Linked DNA regions of Homo sapiens: region 2 is linked to region 1. The links are contacts of gene promoters, found by promoter capture Hi-C in human tissues and cell types (Jung and others, 2019). All regions are on one chromosome and are shown on one strand. The core of a region is centred on a gene start or on the middle of the fragment in contact, and the rest is flanking DNA. Distances in the headings are between cores, read along the strand shown. Region 1 holds the start of FUT9 (fucosyltransferase 9). Region 2 overlaps FUT9 (fucosyltransferase 9).

Region 1 (2,676 bases), core at 132-2,631:
AAACTTCTACAGCAATACCGTCTGGTGCTAAGATACTACACAACTCTGGAAGCACCCAAATAGTGCAGGAGCTTCTTGGTACAATGTTTTCTAATCCTCCTATATCGCTCTTTTAGCCACTACACCTAAAGAAAAATAAGAGCTTTGGCTTATTGCAATTTCAAAGAAGATTTTAAAGGGTAAGTTTGGTGCTACTCTCATCTCCTTCAAGAAAAAGCTTCTTATCCTCAAGAGTTGCTGAGCTTTTGATAGTGTTGTTGCTGAAAGAGATTCACCACCTAGGCAAGTCCTCCGTTCTTAACCTGGAAGTAAGACCAATTCCGCAGGAACAGGTAAAATAGGTGTATTTCCTGTACTCAGCTAAGACGCCTCTCAATGAACAGAACAAACCTAAGCAATGCAAATAGTTCTGCGCTTTAAAACAACAATAACAAAAAGTTTGTTTCCAAAGGGTTTGGTTTTTGTCTTTATTTTTTCACGCTTGATAATACCCTTAACAGCCCAGGTGCTGAGTAACACACAAAGTAACTGTACAGAAACCAGGATCACAGCGTGTCTGTGTCAATTTCCTGAGGTGACTGTCAGAAAATCTGGACAGGCACCATTGTGTAGAGGGAATGAGGTCAGAATTCACTAAGGACCATTCACCCTGGGAAGGAATAGGACGGGACAGTCGGGCTCGAGAGCCAGGCTTTGGGAAAGGAGAGAAGGTGGGTCAGGGAGGACTTTGTGGAGAAGGCTTTGTCAGCGCGAGATCGGGTGAAGGGTGGCAGATAGGGGCGTTTGTGCACTGGCATAAGGTGGGAACGCAGGGACAGTAACAGTAGAGATGACCCTGTTTGGGGTGACCAGAGGGTCGGGGCCATCTACTGCTGCTAGTGTGGGAGCCTGGGGGCTGGAAGGTGAGGCGGGACTGCGAGCTGCAGGCAGCTGTCCCCAAGACGGAGAGGGGTTCAGGTTGCCAGCAGGTGGAGTTGAAATCAAACATCCCCTTGGGGACCACAGAGCAACACCCTCCCTGGACCCTCTGCCTGGAGGACGGGGAATCACAGCAGCTGGTTTGGGGTGCCTCCCAAACCAAAAGATGTTCTCTCCGCGCCAAGCTTTGACGCCCGACCCCCTGCACTCTCCCGCCTACTCACCGGTCCTAGGGGTAAAGCGCCATCCGGGGCGCTCGCGAGGGCTGCGCGGCGCAGGAGGCAGGCAGGGCCAGGCGGCGGTGGCGGCGCTGTCCTAAGAGCGCGACTGGGGCTGGGGGACACCGAGGCAGCGACAGCGGCGGGGGCGCGGGGAGCTGCAGGGGAGAGCAGTGAATCTGGAGCTGCTGCGCCGCGCGCGCTCTCTGCCCATCTCCGGCTTCGCTGAAGCTGCTACAGCTACTGCCGCTGGAGGGGAGGGAGGCGAGGGGGAGGGGAGGAGGCACGCGGTAGGGAGGGACGGAAGAGCAGGAAGGGTGGGGGGTGAGCAAGGGAAGAGGGGGAGATGGTCGCCCAGAGTTGAGGGGGTGGGGAGGGAGGCGCGCAGGAGCCCAGCAGAGGTTCCCACTAAATGAGCTTGGGAGGGGAAATGTAAGATGAGGCGATGGGTCTCTCCCCCGCCCTCCTTCTACCCTACCCTCCTTCCCCCTTCGCGCCCTTTCCTTGGGCTCTTCCTCTCGTGGCTCAGGCTGGGGGTTACCCAAGCTTGGCAGCAGCCGCGGCTTCAGCGCGCTGGTGCGAGTGCTGAGTCCGGGAGGCAGCCTCTACAGCTCTCCCCGCCACCGGCCTGTGGCACCTGTGCGCGCACACTGCCGCCCGCTCCATTGCGGCGGCTCCTGGACCAGGATCCGCAGCCTGTCGCCCTCCTTCTCTCCTCTTTCTGGGCAGATTATGATCCTACATGTGCATCCATGACATCTGTATAGTCCCCCATTGGTGTTTGTTTCCCTGGGCGCTCTTTGGCACTGGCTGTCCCGCCAGAAGGCGCCAGCAGGGAGCTCAATGCCGGCAACCATCGCCTGCCCCTTGGAGCTGTTGCCTGGGCAGGGGTGGCCTTGGTTGTTTACCGCCGGGGTTGACCAGCTAACGAGGTAAAAAAAGAAATTTATACATATATCGTTTTAACCCAATTGCCTCGGACCGTGTTCTCAATGATCTAGGAAGGTTGTAAGTGTGAAGGGCATAGTGACAGCCCATTACCTTCTGTCTTGGCTTCCTTCCTCCCTTTTCTCAACATTCTAAAAACCTAGGGATTGAAAGATCTCTGAATCTCTTTATCACAGAGCTTTTCATTTCCCCCTGCATTTTCCTAGGGTTGGTCCCGCTTTCGTAGTGTGGATTTTCGTTTCCTCTACTTGACTCTAAATCAATCCTGTATATTCGCAAACTACAAAGAGGCGCATGCAAATAGATACTGTACTGAGGGCAGATACACGCGCGAGATCCAGAGGGTGAGTTAACACACATTCAGTAAATATAAAAACAAGTGGAACATTATTAACTGATTTCTGTGAGCCGTAATTTTATTTTATAATTTTCACGTGGTAATTGGGGATAGACAGGGAGCAAGTAGATTATGTGTCTAAAAGATATGACTAGAAAAAAAAGTCTGGTAAAACTCTCCTCAAATAACATAACACATAAAGTGAGCTAATTATTCCCAGACATTCCCAGGAGGGAAAGAGATTCTGATTTTGTT
Region 2 (2,676 bases), core at 114-2,613, 57 kb before region 1:
AGGGATGGGGACACTGTGGATATTGTTTGGTGCAGTACAAATTTTATGTTAAAAACCAACTACTGCTAATATTCGGTGAGATAATAAAATAACAGGTTTTTAGAACTGGAATCATCTGGGCTAATGGTTTGCAACCTTCTCACTAGTAGATATTTTTTATTATTTTAATTGCAGGCCCTAAATTTTAAAAGATTTTAAATCAGTAAACAAGCCGTAGTTATACTGTTATTTTGTAATACTGAAAATCTAAATGGAATTTTAGTTTAGTTTGAAAACTCCATTACTACCTGTGGGGATTCAAGTTGGGAATGAATGAATGAGTCTTTCTTCATTCCACAGATGACAGATGTTGTGTCAGGATGAGGGTTGTACAAGGTTACACAGCTAATGAGAGGCAGCACTGGATATAGAACAATTTATAAGGAGGGAAACAATTTGTTAAAGCACCATCTTGGGCCCCTCATTAGCATCTCGCGCCTTTAATGTTTCTGTTCCCCATCGCCCTTTCAAGCCTCTATTCTTCTAGCTCTGCTTCTCATGCTGTGCAAAGATTTTAATTAATAGCAAGATACTGATAATGTTCAATCCATTTCTCAACCTGACCTCACTCTTGATATTTAGACCTGCTTATCCTATATCCTATTGAATACTACACACTCACTGGCCTTTAGGCCTTTACTTGCGTTGCATGTTTATCAGTAATACCATCCTTTATCTTTTCAATGCTTTTTTTTTTTTTTTTTGAGACGGAGTCTCACTCTGTCTCCCAAGCTGGAGTGCAGTGGCATAATCTCAGCTCACTGCAACCTCAGCCTCCTGGGTTCAAGCGACTATTCTGCCTCAGCCTCCCGAGTAGCTGGGACTACAGGGGTGTGTCACCACGCCTGGCTAATTTTTGTATTTTTAGTAGAGATGAGGTTTCACCATATTGACCAGGCTGGTCTCAAACACCTGACCTTGTGATCCACCTGTCTTGGCCCCCCAAAGTGCTGAGATTACGGGCATGAGCCACCACACCTGGCCAATGTTTCTTCTAATGACAGTTCAAATCTCTTCTTCTCTGTGAGACATCTGATTTCCATCCTCCCACTATATCCAGGTAGAAATAACGTGGTGTTCCCTGTGCTCACATTGCAAGTCAGAGCATTTGTTCTGTTTTCTGATTGTTTGTTCATGTGTATCTCTCCAGCTAGATGGAAAGACTCCTAAAGGTAGGAGGAGTGTCTGCTTCTTCTCTGTAACTCCAGTGCCCTACATATGCTGGCTCTGACATATGCCTGTCAAATAAGGCTTTATGTATGGTGCATAATTACTATCTGCTCAATATACTAGAAAGTATCCATTAGCCACATTTACTCATGCTTAGAGTAACTATAAACTTTACATAGCTATGTTTGTGCAATTTTTATTAACATCAAAGTACTTCAGTTAAAATATAGCACAAAATGACAAACTTTAAAAAATCTTCTTTCACTAATGAATTAACCAGTGAACTTCATTATTCAGATAGAAAAAAAAGTTGCCTTTTTCTATCTGAATAAGGCAAAAATTCATGGAACACAAAGGCATTATAAAAATAACCATGTGCATACCCCATAGAGGTACGTGCCAAGCTTAGTGAATTGTGGACATCATTATGGACTAGTAATTTTATGGAATAGTAATTTTAAACATGATCCTCTCCCTTGTTTTGTTTTTAAAGATTCCGACAAGTGAGTATATAGAGAGGAAAAAAATGCTCTTTCAGTGTATTTGACAAAGATATATTTGTGATGCAATCTACAAAGTGATGCAGAGAATAATAGGAGAAAGATACAATTTTTTACATCATTAGTGTTTTTAATGCACATTTTCCATATTTATAATCAGTCATTCCTATGCTCTGACTGCTTAGAAATAAGGTGGTACGAAATAAGATAAGAGATATGGAGAGAGGGTAGTGTAGTGGTTCTGAGTCTGGGATTTATAGTCAATTGGGTTTGAATCTTGACTCTGCTACTTGCAGCTATATGACCTCAGCAAGTTAATTAACATCTCTAAACCCCTAGTTTCTCATTAAGAAATGGAGTCTATAATAGAACCTATTTCTTTTCTTTTCTTCTTAAATAGAGATAAGGTCTTACTATATTGCCTAGGAACCCAGCCTATAGAATGTATTTCATGAAGTCATTGCAAGTATTAAAAAGAATAATTCATAGAGAGCATTTTGCACCACATCTAGTTTAATAGTCACAATAAATAAAATTAACTATTATTGGGCTGGGTGTGGTGGCTCACGCCTATAATCCAAGTACTTTGGGAAGCTGAGATGAGAGCATTGCTTGAGCCCAGGAGTTTGAGACCAGCCTGGGTAACATAGTGGAACCCTGTCTCTACAAAAGAAAAAAAAACTTAAATTTTAATTTTAAATATTAACTATTATCATTTATATAATTATTGATTGGCTGTTGTTAAAATTTTGGTCATAGATGTTTAGGGATAGAAGAGATCTTAGTGACAATTTTTAAAAATGCCGTGAGTCTTGCTCCTTTGTTGATGTAGTAATGGTTAAACTGCCATAGCTTCCAGGTATTCAGATTTGCAGCCCATTGCTCTTTATACTCTTCACTAAAACGACATTTAAGCTTCATTTTTAAAATAATTGATTTGCCATGGGCAAACCAATTTTTTTACTTC

Evidence for each region. Contacts are between HindIII fragments. The study calls those that stand out against the background at their distance.
Region 2: a fragment that was not itself captured here is called in contact with the fragment with the promoter of FUT9 in region 1 in 1 of the 25 tissues and cell types used here (dorsolateral prefrontal cortex).

The regions. Positions count from the first base shown.
Region 1 is chr6:96,014,679-96,017,354 of GRCh38, reverse strand. It overlaps FUT9 (fucosyltransferase 9), which reads right to left and starts at 1,381. Exons shown (of 3, transcript NM_006581.4): 1 at 1,143-1,381. LOC107986626 (a long non-coding RNA gene) reads left to right here and starts at 1,922. Exons shown (of 3, transcript XR_001744263.2): 1 at 1,922-2,068. The HindIII fragment of the contact is 1,974 bases long and covers 661-2,634 here.
Region 2 is chr6:96,071,516-96,074,191 of GRCh38, reverse strand. The region is part of intron 1 of FUT9 (fucosyltransferase 9); the gene reads right to left. Among named protein-coding and RNA genes, the nearest start is that of FUT9, 57 kb to the right of the region's middle. The HindIII fragment of the contact is 7,127 bases long and covers 1-2,676 here.